3 separate regions of the Homo sapiens genome follow, and all the other regions are linked to region 1. Evidence: promoter capture Hi-C in 16 types of primary human blood cells and fetal thymus (Javierre and others, 2016). All regions are on one chromosome and are shown on one strand. The core of a region is centred on a gene start or on the middle of the fragment in contact, and the rest is flanking DNA. Distances in the headings are between cores, read along the strand shown.

Region 1 (4,169 bases), core at 456-2,955:
TTTTGTGGCTGTTTCTTCCCAAGAGGTTCTCAGGAGGTTTTTAGTATTTATACATTTTCCTTGAAAAGTGGGGGTGGGAAAGATTGAGGCAAAGACTTTAGCTAATGCTCAGGAAATCTACGTTTTGTTTTTTGAGACGGAGTCTTGCTCTGTTGCCAGGCTGGAGTGCAGTGGTGCTCTCGGCTCACTGCAACCTCTGCCTCCGGGTTCAAGCGATTCCCCTGCCTCAGCCTCCCAAGTAGCTAGGACTACAGGCGCGCCACCACACTCGGCTAAGTTTTTGTATTTTAGCAGAGACAGGGTTTCACCATGTTGGCCAGGATGGTCTCGATCTCCTGACCTTATGATCCGCCCTCCTAGGTGGCCTAAATCTACATTTTTACATAAGATAAGGTGAATGTTTGAAGAAAAAGGGAATGGAGGAAGAAAACAATTATGTGGTGGACTCAGGGTAATCTAGTAGTAAGGTACTACTAGAAAGGTAGAAAGTAGTCTAGTAGAAAGGTAATCTAGTAGTGAACATTTATGGAATTTGTGGAATAGAGGCCAGGTGCGGTGGCTCGCGCTTACATTCCTAGCACTTTGGGAGGCCAAGGCGGGCGGATCACCTGAGGTCAGGCGTTGGAGACCAGCCTAGCCAACATGATGAAACCTCGTCTCTACTAAAAATACAAAAAATTAGCTGGGCGTGGTGGTGCGTGCTTGTAGTCCCAGACACTCCGGAGGTGAGGCGGGAGAATCGCTTGAGCCCGGGAGGTGGAGGTTGCAGTAAGCCAACACCGTGCCACTGCACTACAGCCTGGGCGACAGGGTGAGTGAGACTCCGTCTCAAAAAAATGTGGAATAGAACAAACTTTAGTTTTAGGAACTAGACTTTATATTGTAGATCTAGTTGCAATTGACACGTCCTTGTTTTATGGGAGGCTACATACTTTAAAGGTTTCCAGGGGAGCAAATAATTAATTATGATTTTGTGTATGTGTGTTTGTGGGGGGTAGTCATCAGGAAATGTCTGAGGCCTTTTGCCTTACCGTGTGGGTCTGGCTAATGTGTAATGTTTTGACTCAAGATTGTAAAGTCAAATTATTCATCCGGGGAGAGGATGGTCGTGTAACTGAATCAGCCTCCCAAGATGAACTTTCCCTCTGGCGTAAGTTTAGGAGTCCTGATATTTTATTTTCCTTTACAACAGAAAGCAGCAACCCTGTAATTAAAGAGAACAATGAAGGAAGCTATCTAAGCCATGAGGGTTACTGAGGATCTGCGCTGGGGTTAAGGCTGCGAACTTAAGAAATATTTGGATAGACAGTTCTCATGGCTTGGTGTGGTTAGACGTGGTCCTCCGTGGGCAGCAGCTAAGACGCTTACTCCAGTTTGGGCATTGAGGGCACAGTGCGTAGTGGTCCTGGAAGTAAAGAGAATCCTGGTTTTCCGCAGAGATCTAGGATTAACCTAAGCGTTCGGGTTCGGGAGCGGCCACAAGGGCGCCTCACTCCAACCTCAGCCATCCGCAACAGGGTGGGGTATTAGTATTTTTCCGCACCCGCCCCAACGAGGGAAAGCGCCGAGTCATTCCGGCGGGGCGCGCCGGGCGGGGCTCGGGCCACATCCCCCTCCTCTCTCTCCTCCTCCGGCACCCCCGTCCGTTCCGACTCTCGCGAGATCCCTACTGGCTATAAAGGCAGCGCCCCGGAGAGCTCTTGCGCGTCTTGTTCTTGCCTGGTGTCGGTGGTTAGTTTCTGCGACTTGTGTTGGGACTGGTGAGTGTGGGCAGTGCGGCCCCTGCGGAGTGAGGCGCGGCGCGCCCTTCTTGCCTGTTGCCTCTTCCTCCTCCTGTCCGGGGCCCGCCCGCGCTCGGGTGGGGGTGCTGTGATGCGTGAGGCAGCCGGGGGAGGCCCGGAGTCCGAGACTGCTTGAGCGCTGCGCACACCCCTCTCGTGGGCCCCCCACGTAGGTGCGGGAACCTGGTTGAACCCCAAGGCAAGCGTGGACTCGAGTCGAGTCTTCCCCCGGCAACTCGAGCACGTGGCGCGGCGTCTGGGCGGGCTGGTGGTGGGGGTCTCCGAGACTAGCCTCCTGCCGGACGGGGTGGGTTCGGGAAGCTTCTGGAATGGACCTGTATCCAGACTCGTGGCTGTAGAAGACAGCCTCTATGTATTTGGCTGTTCCGGGTCCTGAGCCTTGACTAGCTGCGGAGCTTCGGGTACCCTTTCCCCGTCTTTATTTTCCTGTACGTGGAATGGAGTTAGCGATGAGCCCAAATGTCCCCGCTGAAGCACTCTCTCTGCTGGTGCTTTCTCCAGTGCTGGGGAGGGACAGGGGGCACCTGAAGTGGGGTTTAGGGATGTGGCCCTCTACGCTGGGCAGATCCCCTGAAGGGGCCCGGTGGCGGCCTGAATCCCAGCAGCCTTTACCCCGAATTGGTTGGGTTTTGTACTTGGGGGCCACTTGGGAAAGAAGGATTGGACGAGAAGGCCATTTGGGGGCACCAAGTTGCAGCATGCCTTAGTTTTTGGTTTTTGTTTTTTGTCGTTAAAGGTGTTAAGGACTTTTTAAAAAACAGTTAAAAGTTTGCTAAGATCCATGCTTACAAAATTTCTTTTGCTTGTGGTATTGTGAACTAAGAACTTTGGGACTTGGAAAAGCTTTCAGACCGCGGCTTAGTGGGTTAAATCTCTGTTTTTTGAGCTAGAGTCTCGCTCTGTCGGCCAGGCTGGAGTGCAGTGGCGCGGTCTCGGCTTACTGCAACCCCTGTCTCCCGAATTCAAGCAATTCTTCTGCCTCAGCCTTAGGAGTAGCTGGGATTACAGGCTTGTGCCACCAAGCCCCGGCTAATTTTTGTATTTTTTTTTTTTTTTTTTTTTTGAGACGGAGTCTCGCTCTGTCGCCCAGGCTGGAGTGCAGTGGCTGGATCTCGGCTCACTGCAGCCTCCGCCTCCCGGGTTCACGCCATTCTCCTGCCTCAGCCTCCCGAGTAGCTGGGACTGCAGGCGCGTGCCACCACCCCCGGCTAATTTTTTGTATTTTTGTTAGAGACGGGGTTTCACTATGATGGCCAGGCTGGTCTCGAACTTCTGACCTCAGGTGATCTGCCTGCCTCGGCCTCCCAAAGTGCTGGGATTACAGGCTTGAGCCACAGCGCTTGGCCAAGATCTCAATACTAATCTTGGTGTTGATCTGGGTGAATCCAGTGCAACCTTCCTTTTCAGCAGTAAATTGATTCTTATACTTGTTTTCGCCCTGGGATATTAGCCCCAAAGTCAGGAACCCACCTTCACAAATGGTGAAGGGAATTCTAGGGCTTACACAATACCTAAAGATTTGAAATTAAGCAGATGCCAATCAATATCTTGGTCTTGCCTCTTTTTTTTTTTTTTTTTTTTGGAGACAGAGTCTCACTCTGTTGCCCAGGCTGGAGTGCAGTGGCGCGATCTCAGCTTACTGCAACCTCTGCCTCCCGGGTTCAAGTGATTCTCCTGCTTCAGCCTCCTGAGTAGTTGCGATTACAGGCATGCACCACCACGCCCGACTAATTTTTGTGTTTCTAGTAGAGACGGGGTTTCACCATGTTGGCCAGACTGGTCTCGAACTCCTGACCCGGTGATCCGCCCGCCTGAGCCTCTCAAAGTGCTGGGATTACAGGTGTGAGACACTGCGCCCAGTGGTCTTGCCTCTTAAAAGTTGGACTGACTGGAAGGGCGCGGTGGCTCACGCCTGTAATCCCAGCATTTTGGGAGACTGAGTTGGGCAATCATCTGAGGTGAGGAGTTTGAGACTAGCCTGACCAACATGGAGAAATCCCGTCTCTAATAGAAGTACAAAAAAATTAGCCGGGTGTGGTGGCCTGCGCCTGTAATCCCAGCTACTATGGAGGCTGAGGCAGGAGAATCCCTTGAACCTGAGAGGTGGAGGTTGCAGTGAGCCGAGATAATGCCATTGCATTCCAGCCTGGGCCCCAAGAGCGAAACTCCGTCAAAAAAACAAAACAAAACAAAAACAAATAAAACAAGTTGAATTAGTTATAGGTTGTGTGCTGTCTTGGACAAAGCTACCTGGAGAAAAGTCAAATATGCTTCTGATGTTATGAAGGCAGGTGGAGGCACAGTGATGGGAAAGGTCAACGTGACTTTTGGGGAGCCAAACAAAAGTGTTTGTGGCATTGTGCATTT
Region 2 (4,478 bases), core at 384-2,883, 370 kb before region 1:
TGTGGTGAAACCCTGGCTCTACTAAAAATAAAAAAAAAAAATTAGCTGGGTGTCATGGCGTGCACCTGTAGTCCCAGCTACTCAGGAGGCTGAGACAAGAGAATTGCTTGAACCCAGGAGGTGGAGGTTGCAGTGAGCCAAGATTGCGTCACTGTACTCCAGCCTGGCAACAGAGTGAGATTCTGCCTCAAAAAAACAAAACAAAACGAAACAAAACAAAAATTCCAGGCACAGAGAACACATTGTGTAAAACATGGAGAAAAATATAGCAACCACACTGTATAGATAGTCAGGTGTGATCCTAAGAGTAAGAAAAAATTCACCAAAGGCCAGGTGCAGAGGCTCACACCTGTAATCTCAGCACCTCGGAAGGCCGAGGAAGGCAGGTAGTTTTAGCCCAGGAGTTTGAGACCAGCCAGGGCAACATGGCAAAACCCCACCTCTACAAGAAGTACAAAAATTAGCTGGGTGTGGCGGCGTGCACCTGTGGTCCCAGCTACTTGGGAGACTGAGGTGCGAGTACCACCTGAGCCCAGGAAGGCTGGGGCTGCACTGAGCCGTGATCGCACCACTGTACTCCAACCTGGGTGACAAAGTGAGATTCTGTTTCAAAAAAAAAAAAATTTCACCAAAAAAGTTTAAATTAATATCTAATAATGAAATCCGCATTTTAAAAAGCTTTTCCTGGCTATTGTATGATAGTTAGGTAGACTGAGGGTGAGCAATGCCAGATAAAGAAAGGCCAGTTAGGAGGTTATGGCAGTAGCAGAGGCAAGAGATTACAATGGCTGTGACTATCTGGACAAACCAGTGGTAGTATAAAGAAAGAGAGAACACCAGCCGGGCACAGTGGCTCAGGCCTGTAATCCCAGCACTTGGGAGGCCGAGGCGGATGGATGATGAGGTCAGATTGAGACCATCCTGGCTAACGTGGTGAAACCCCGTCTCTACTAAAAATACAAAAAATTAGCCAGGCGTGGTGCACACATCTGTAGTACCAGCTACTGGGGAGGCTGAGGCGGAAGAATCACTTGAACCTGGGAGGCGGAGGTTGCAGTGAGGCGAGATTGTGCCATTGCACTCCAGCCTGGGCGAGAGAGCAAGACTCCATCTCAAAAAAAAAAAAAAAAAAAAAAAAAAAAAAAAAAAAGAGGCCGCGCGCGGTGGCTCACGCCTGTAATCCCAGCACTTTGGGAGGCCGAGGTGGGTGGATCACAAGTTCAGCAGATCGAGACCATACTGGCTAACAGAGTGATACCCGGTCTCTACTAAAAACACAAAAAATTAGCCGGGCGTGGTGGTGGGGGCCTGTAGTCCCAGCTACTCAGGAGGCTGAGGTGGGAGAATGGTGTGAACCCGGGAGGCGGAGCTTGCAGTGAGCCCAGATGGCGCCACTGTACTCCAGCTTGGACCACAGAGCGAGACTCAGTCTCAAAAAAATAAAATAAAATAAAAATAAAGACAGAACACCAAGAGATATTTGAGAGGTATAACAGAAAAGACTTGTGAGTGTAAGGAAGAGCATGGCAACAAAAATAACTAAATTTTCTATCTTGAGGAAGCAGTACCATTTAATAAGCTAGAGTATAAGAGAGGACCTGATTTTTGAGAAAGACAATGACTCAGATTCATAAATGCTGCAGTTCAGATGTCTCTGAAATATTCAGTCACATTATGGTGAATGGACAGTTATGAGATCTAGCGATATAAATGTGGGGATAATGAGCATGACAACTATTCTCAACATACAGTAACAAAAACAGGTTCTCAAGGATTTTCAGATCCCACCTACACAGGTAAAGCTCGCCAACAACTACATCCATTTTTTAACAACAAACTGGTTCCCTGTAGGGATATGAGTGATGACTATGGCTACTTCCCTCCCAACCTCTGCTACGTCCTGCCTTCCCATTGGACACTTAGAGAATCTATATGAAATTACTTCCCACCAACTTTTAAAAGACAGGGTCTTAAATGTAACACAAAGCTATCACTCTGGGCTTTAGAGTCTTGAAAGATTGCAAAATTTCCTGATTTTCAAAGCCCCACAGAAAACCTAAAGCCCTATATCAGACGCCACTGATACCTCAACAAAGGGTTTATTATGTGTATGCAGCAGGTGGTATCTCTTTTTAGCACATTTTCCAGAAGCATTGATCCAGGCATCAAGTTGCATCAGAATGGGAAAGTACATGACACTGTCAGTTTCATAGGAACAAAGTTTGACACATCACATCCCTGGGGCCCAGGAACTCCTCCCTGCCCACTATGCAGTGCCTATCACTGCAGACACCAGACATTAACTTTCATCCAATATCTGGTATCTAAGTCCACTGCCCAAATGAATAAGCTGACAAAATAAAAGGTTAACTATCCCCAAGGGCTCTAAAGACTACAAGCCAGCAATGCCAATAATATCAACACACACATATACACATACCCCATGATGAATGCAACCAACAGCTACCTCTCCACTCCTACAGTCTGTTATCTCAATTGACTGCTCATAGCCTCTAAGAAATAAAGCAAGACATTTCATGAAATATGAGGAAAATTATCTTAAGCCTAATGGGTATTAGAAAAGCTTTACTTTCAGGGTAACTGGAGACATAAGCATTATTTACATTAAGCTCCCAAATGCAGGGTCTAGGTACTGGTGCTGAAATTCACAAACAAAATAAACAGTCGCCAGGCATTGTGGTTCATGCCTGTAATCTAAGCACTTTGGGAAGCCAAGGTAGGCAGATAGCTTGAGCTCAGGAGTTCCAGACCAGCCTGAGTAACATAGTGAAACCCCATCTCTACAAAAAATACAAAAATTAGCCAGATGTGGTGGCAGGTGCCTGTGGTGCCAGCTACTCAGGAGGCTGTGATGGGAAGATCTCCTGAGGCCAGGGAGGACCAGGCTGCAGTGAGCTGAGACTGCGCCACTGCACTCCAGCCTAGGCTAAAGAATGAGACCCTGTCACAAAAACAAACAAAATAACAACAACAGCAAAAGAAACAATCCTATTTGAAAGGAATCATCAAAAAGAGGCCCCCACTATAGCATTGGGCAAGAAAAGCCATTCAGAGCTGCTTCAATTATGAAAAAGTAAAATATAAAACCCTTCTAGCCTGGGTAAACAGATACAAGTAACTTTAGAACTTCAAAATCTTCTTTTCACAGATATTGTACTTTGAACAAAGTTATCAACTCCCTTAGGTCTGATATTCTAAACTACATTTTTAATGCATTAAAAAAATACCCAGATGGGTTTAAATATGAAATAGCTTTCTAAAAATGAAAATGATTTAGTTTCAGGAAGCTACATCTAAAATAAATGGTATGAGCCAGGCCAAAAGAACTTTCATAACCACCTTGCCCCAATAAAGCCCTTATCGTGGCAGGCATAGATGATGTTTGCATTTTGCGTATTAGAATGTAACAGCTCTCTTCCCTAATCTGACCAATGTCACTATAAATGTGTGTGTGTGTGTGTGTGTGTGTGTGTGTGTGTACTTATAGATACATATATAAATATGTATACAATATATAAATATATATGTATACTTATATAAGTATATAAATATATATAATATATACATATATATTTATCGATCTATCTCTATCTCAGTATCACTCATTCCAGACTCCTGTTCTCTGCTCAAATGTTGCCTTAATGAGAAAATTCCTGGACAATACAAAATTTTTTGATTTTTAAAATTTTTCTGTAGAGACAGGGTCTCACTATGTTGCCCAGGCTGTTCTCAAACTCCTGAACTCAAGCGATCCTCCTGCCTTAGTCTCTCAAAGTGCTCGGATTACAGGTGTGAACCACCACACCCAGCCTAGACAATTCAATTTAAAATTTAAAATTTAAACCCTCACCCCCACAGAAACACACATCCTCCTCTCTGATATCTGGCTTTATTTTTCTTCATAGCAGTAAGTACCATATGGCATATCATACATGTTTTTGTCTCTCTTAAGTAGAATGGAAACTCCATGAGCACAGGGACCTTGTCTGCTTTATTCACTACTGTATCTCCAGTATCTAGAATAGTGCCTACACCTAACTGGAACTAAAATAATATAGTATGATGGATGCATGGATGGAAAGATTTGAGCAAATGACAAAGTGAATGGAGGCAAAAAGACAAAAATATAGTAACTGATTTTACCAAAAAACATCTAGTAAGTAATAGTGCCGTGACTGAAACCCACATCTGCCTGACTTGCAAACCCAAGCTGTTAATTTTTATGCTATACTTCCACTTACCAATTTGGAGACTTTGGAGGAATTACTTGTTGAGTGGAAGAATGTGTATTTTGTATAATGCCAAGTTGTCACATAAGTCTAGAAACTCATATTTGAGTTCCTGTCCATTTTAATGCAACTAACATATTACGTGAAAAGCACAGCAATTGAAAGCCTCAAAAATTAATTAACAAAAACGCTCTCTCAAAGGACAAGAACACCAAACTAGAGGCAAAT
Region 3 (4,510 bases), core at 1,595-4,094, 490 kb after region 1:
AATTAAATTAAATTAAATATGCCAGGCACAGTGGCTCACGCCTGTAATCCCAGGACTTTGGTAGGGTGAATCGGGTGGATCACTTGAGGCCAGGAGTTCAAGACCAGCCTGGCCAACATAGTGAAACCCCAGTTCTATCAAAAATACAAAAATTGTCAGGCATAGTGGCACATGCCTGTAGTCCCAGCTACTCTGGAGGCTGAGGCACGAGAATTGTTTGAACCCAGGAGGCGGAGGTTGCAATGAGCCAAGATCACGCCACTGCACTCTGGCCTGGGCGATAGAGCGAGACTCTGTCTCAAAAATAAATTTTTAAATAAAATTAACAGGGCATGGTGGCATGTGCCTGTAGTCCCAACTATTCAGAAGACTCAGGTATCTCTTAAAACAAAAACCTGTAAAGCTCTATCCACGTATGCACTACCAGCAGGCAACCCAAATGCAGACCACGTGACCTTATAGCTGGCTGGTATGTTTGTGGCCAGCCGTATCAACCCAAGGCAAGACAATAGAGAAGCTTTTATTTGACTCTCAGGGTCAAGGCTGGAGAGACTGATAAGAAGACCCAGGCAGGGACAGACAGCAGTTTGTCTCTATCACTGTCTAAAATTTTAACCTGCTTGTTTCCAGAACTGTTGCAGAGAGGAACCACAACCATCACAAACCTGGAGGGCTGGGTGGGCCACCCCCTGGATCCCATCGACTGCCTGTTTCTCACTTTGACTGAGGCCTGCCGCCTGAATGATGATGGCTATCTGGAGATGTCAGGTACAGGGGTCAGCCTGAGGCAAACCAAGACTGCCCTTGTTGGTTAGCATGGTGGCTCACACCTGTAATCCTAGCATTTTGGGAGGCCAAGGTGGGTGGATTACTTGAGTTCAAGAGTTCAAGACCAGCCTGGGCAACATGGCAAAACCCTGTCTCTACAAAATATTAGCCAGGTGTGGTCAGTCGCCTGTAATCCCAGCTACTTCGGGGCTGAGGCAGTAGGATCACTTGATCCCAGGAGATCGAGGCTGCAGTGAGTCAAGATCACACCACTGCACTGCAATCTGGGTGACAAAGTGAGACCCTGTTTCATTAAAAAAAAAAAAAAAAAGACTGCCCTCGTCAGCCCTTTTCTCCCTTCCAGACTCTGTTCTACCTCCTTTTGAAGTTTTTTCCCCCTCTTGTCCAAACTAGAGCACCCTGAGAGGTTTCTTCATGCTTGCCCATTTCCCACCTTCCTTTCCTACCCTTTGGTCTGGCCTTGTCCTGATTTTGCATTTTACCTTGCCAGCCTTCCTTGTTCCTTTTATTTCCCTATCATAAATGCCTAAAGAATGTAGTCCAAGAAGAATAACAAGTGATAGAGAAATTTTAGCAGTCAGAGGCGAGAACCTAGAGCAGTCTGAAAGTGGGAAAGAACTTCCATTAAGAATCTGTGTATCCCTTGCAATTGCATAATAATATTTTCTGGTTTCCTTTGAACTTTCTTCCACATGATGGTTTTGTACCAATTTTACAAATAAGAAATAGAGGAGAATAATTTAATAGAGCCTCAAGACTCTATTAGAGTAGCCAAGAATAGATAGAGACAAAATTGATTCTTTTTTCTTTTATACCTTCACTTACTGTATACATATATCTACTTTAGTATTTAGCATGCTACATTACAATTTATTTACAAATAGTTCTCTCTTACTAGACTGTCAGCTACTTGAAAACAGAAATTATGACTTCTTTATCTTTGTGTTCCTAGCACTTAGTGGAGGACCTGACATTTAACAATCTTTCATAAATACTTATTAGATAGATGAGGGAGAAAAGAAAAGAAACCAAGACTTTGACTTTTAAACCGTGCTTACTTCCTGAAATTGTGCACCCACTGGTGGAGCATATGAGATAATAGTAACATAAAGGTTGCAAATGTTACAAAAGTTAAGAGTTTAACTGTAGGGATTCAGATTTCTCTGGGTAGAGATATAAGGGGTGGCCCCAAGCCAAGTGCAGGCTGCTCCTTATCTTCCCTCTGATCCCTTGCAAAGTGAATCATCATCTTTGGTCTGTTTCATCTGTACAGTGACATTTACATCTTGGAAACCTGAGTTTGCACTTGGGTTTATTCATTCACCACTAACACATAGCAATACCTAGAACAACAAGATGGTCTAATCCCTTTAAGGTGTTCACATTCTATGAAAGAGACAGAAACAAAAACAGACAATTACAGCATTACATAATGTGCTAGCAAAATATAAGATTTTATACTTCCCTAACTGGCTTAGCCAGTTCATATATTAAGAAGGAGATGGGCCGGGCGCAGTGGCTCTCGCCTGTAATCCCAGCACTTTGGGAGGCCAAGGCAGGCAGATCACCTGAGGTCAGGAGTTGGAGACCAGCCTGGCCAACATGGTGAAACCCCATCTCTACTAAAAATATAAAAATTAGCTGGGTGTGGTGGTGTGTGCCTGTAATCCCAGCTACTCAGGAGGCTGAGGCAGATGAATTGCTTGAACCCAGGAGGCGGAGGTTGCAGTAAGCCGATACCGTGCCACTGCTCTCCAGCCTGGGAGATGGAGCGAGACTCCCTCTCAAAAAAAAAAAAAAAAAAAAGGAGGTGGGGCTGGGCATGGTGGCTTATGCCTATAATCCCAGCATTTTGGGAGGCCAAGGTGGGAAAATCACTTGAGCCCAGGAGTTTGAGACCAGCCTGGGCAACATAATGAGACCCTATCTCTACAAAAAAAAATTAAAAATTATCTGGGCATGGTGGCATGTGCCTGTAGTCCCAGCTACTCAGGAAGCTGAAGTGGGAGGGTCGCTTGAGCCCAAGAGGTTGAGGCTGCATCAGTGACCCATGATTGCACCACTACACTCCCGCCTTAGCAACCAAGCAAGACTCTGTCTCCAAAAAAATTAAAAAAGAAAGAAGTGTGAATCTTTGTGGCTCTGTGTAACCTTTTTTTCAGTATATTTTCCTTACTATTCTGGGGTTCTGATTCAGCTTCCCTATGATAGCTGTTGACCAAGCTGTATCCCAAAGGTGGGAGGGAAAGACAGAAGACTAGGCCGAATACGGTGGCTCACACCTGTAATCCCAGCACATTCGGAGGCCGAGGTAGGCAGATCACCTGAGGTCAGGAGTTTGAGTCCAGCCTGGCCAACATGATGAAACCGCCCCTCTACTAAAAATACAAAAATTCGACAGGTGTTGTGGCATGCTCCTGTAATCCCAGCTACTTGGGAGGCTGAGGCAGGAAAATCGCTTGAACCGGGGAGGCGGAGGCTGCAGTGAGCTGAGATTGCACCACTGTACTCCAGCCTGGACAACAGAGCAAGACTCTGTCTCAAAAAAAAAAAAAAAAAAGAAAGAAGACTCTACCAAGCCTAACCTAAAGAATTTGGTGCCCTGTTGCCCTCAGATATGAATGAAAGCAGACCCCCTGTGTACCAGCATGTACCTGTGGCTGCAGGCTCCCCAAACAGCAGTGAGTCCTACCTGTCATTGGCCCTGGAAGTTGCACTGATGGGCCTGGGTCAACAGAGGTTAATGCCTGAAGGCCTCTACGCACAGGACAAGGTATGCCGTAATGAGGAGCAGCTCCTGAGCCAACTCCAAGAGCTGCAGCTGGACGATGAGCTAGTGCAAACACTGCAAAAACAATGCATCTTACTGCTGGAAGGTAAGTAGAAAAGAGTCTCTTGTCACGGTGTCTTTGGCCCATGACCCTGAGCTCCCCTCTCCAATAGAGTACAAGTACAGGAACATTTATGACATTAAAATGTAGTGAATGAAGGTTCCCATGATTAGCAAACATGCATGAGATACTGGGGCTCAAGTCCAGGCTGGCAGATGGAAGCATACAGATAAATAACTGGCTGGCTTATCTTCCTCCAGGAGGTCCTTTCAGCGGTCTGGGAGAAGTCATCCACCGAGAGAGTGTTCCCATGCATACCTTTGCCAAGTATTTGTTCTCAGCTCTGCTGCCTCATGATCCAGACCTGTCCTATAAATTAGCCTTACGTGCCATGAGGTGGGTAGCCCTTTCCCAGTCCAATTGCCTCCACCAAAGCAGAAGTGTCCAGTGCTCTTTTTCATTGCTTATTTCACTTTCTTTTCTTTCCCTCTTTGTCATTCTGTTGGACCCGCTACCAAGTGTACCTTAAAATGGCTCAGATATTTTTATATGATCTAGGATTCATATCTGGATTCCTTGTTGGTGACTTGGTTCCCTGGCAGTACTCATGGTTGATTGTCTGAGGAAGCCCCTGAGATGTTAATAAATAAGGAGCACTTAAGACCTGAGTCTTCCTGTTCAGTGGTTATTCAGGCAAGCTGAGAAGGGGTCTGAGCCCTTCTGTAGTTCAACTCAGTCAAGGTTCCCAGGCACAGGTCCCCAGAAGAAGCTGGGGGAAGTAGAGATAAATATGTTTACCCCAAGACTTGAGAACAATGAGCTATGGGCATCTTGTTTCCAGGCTAGAATAGGATCCTTGGTTTAGGCAGTTAAACCTCTGGGATGTAGCA

What was found. The method cuts DNA at HindIII sites, captures the fragments that hold promoters and counts their contacts. A CHiCAGO score of 5 or more calls a contact.
Region 2: a fragment that was not itself captured here is called in contact with the fragment with the promoter of PRDX1 in region 1 in 1 of 17 cell types (megakaryocytes); the score reaches 5.1 in megakaryocytes.
Region 3: a contact is called between a fragment that was not itself captured here and the fragment with the promoter of PRDX1 in region 1, in 1 of 17 cell types (neutrophils). The highest score is 5.0, in neutrophils.

What each region holds. Positions count from the first base shown.
Region 1 is chr1:45,519,420-45,523,588 of GRCh38, reverse strand. It overlaps PRDX1 (peroxiredoxin 1), which reads left to right and starts at 1,705. Exons shown (of 6, transcript NM_181697.3): 1 at 1,705-1,760. RefSeq lists an enhancer at 1,227-1,306 and a silencer at 2,349-2,511. The HindIII fragment of the contact is 8,348 bases long and covers 1-2,104 here.
Region 2 is chr1:45,885,336-45,889,813 of GRCh38, reverse strand. The region is part of intron 4 of MAST2 (microtubule associated serine/threonine kinase 2); the gene reads right to left. The region is part of intron 2 of LOC105378694 (a long non-coding RNA gene); the gene reads left to right. Among named protein-coding and RNA genes, the nearest start is that of MAST2, 84 kb to the right of the region's middle. The HindIII fragment of the contact is 1,906 bases long and covers 681-2,586 here.
Region 3 is chr1:45,035,194-45,039,703 of GRCh38, reverse strand. ZSWIM5 (zinc finger SWIM-type containing 5) reads left to right here. Exons shown (of 14, transcript NM_020883.2): 8 at 631-768; 9 at 3,405-3,665; 10 at 3,881-4,016. Among named protein-coding and RNA genes, the nearest start is that of UROD, 25 kb to the right of the region's middle. The HindIII fragment of the contact is 4,650 bases long and covers 520-4,510 here.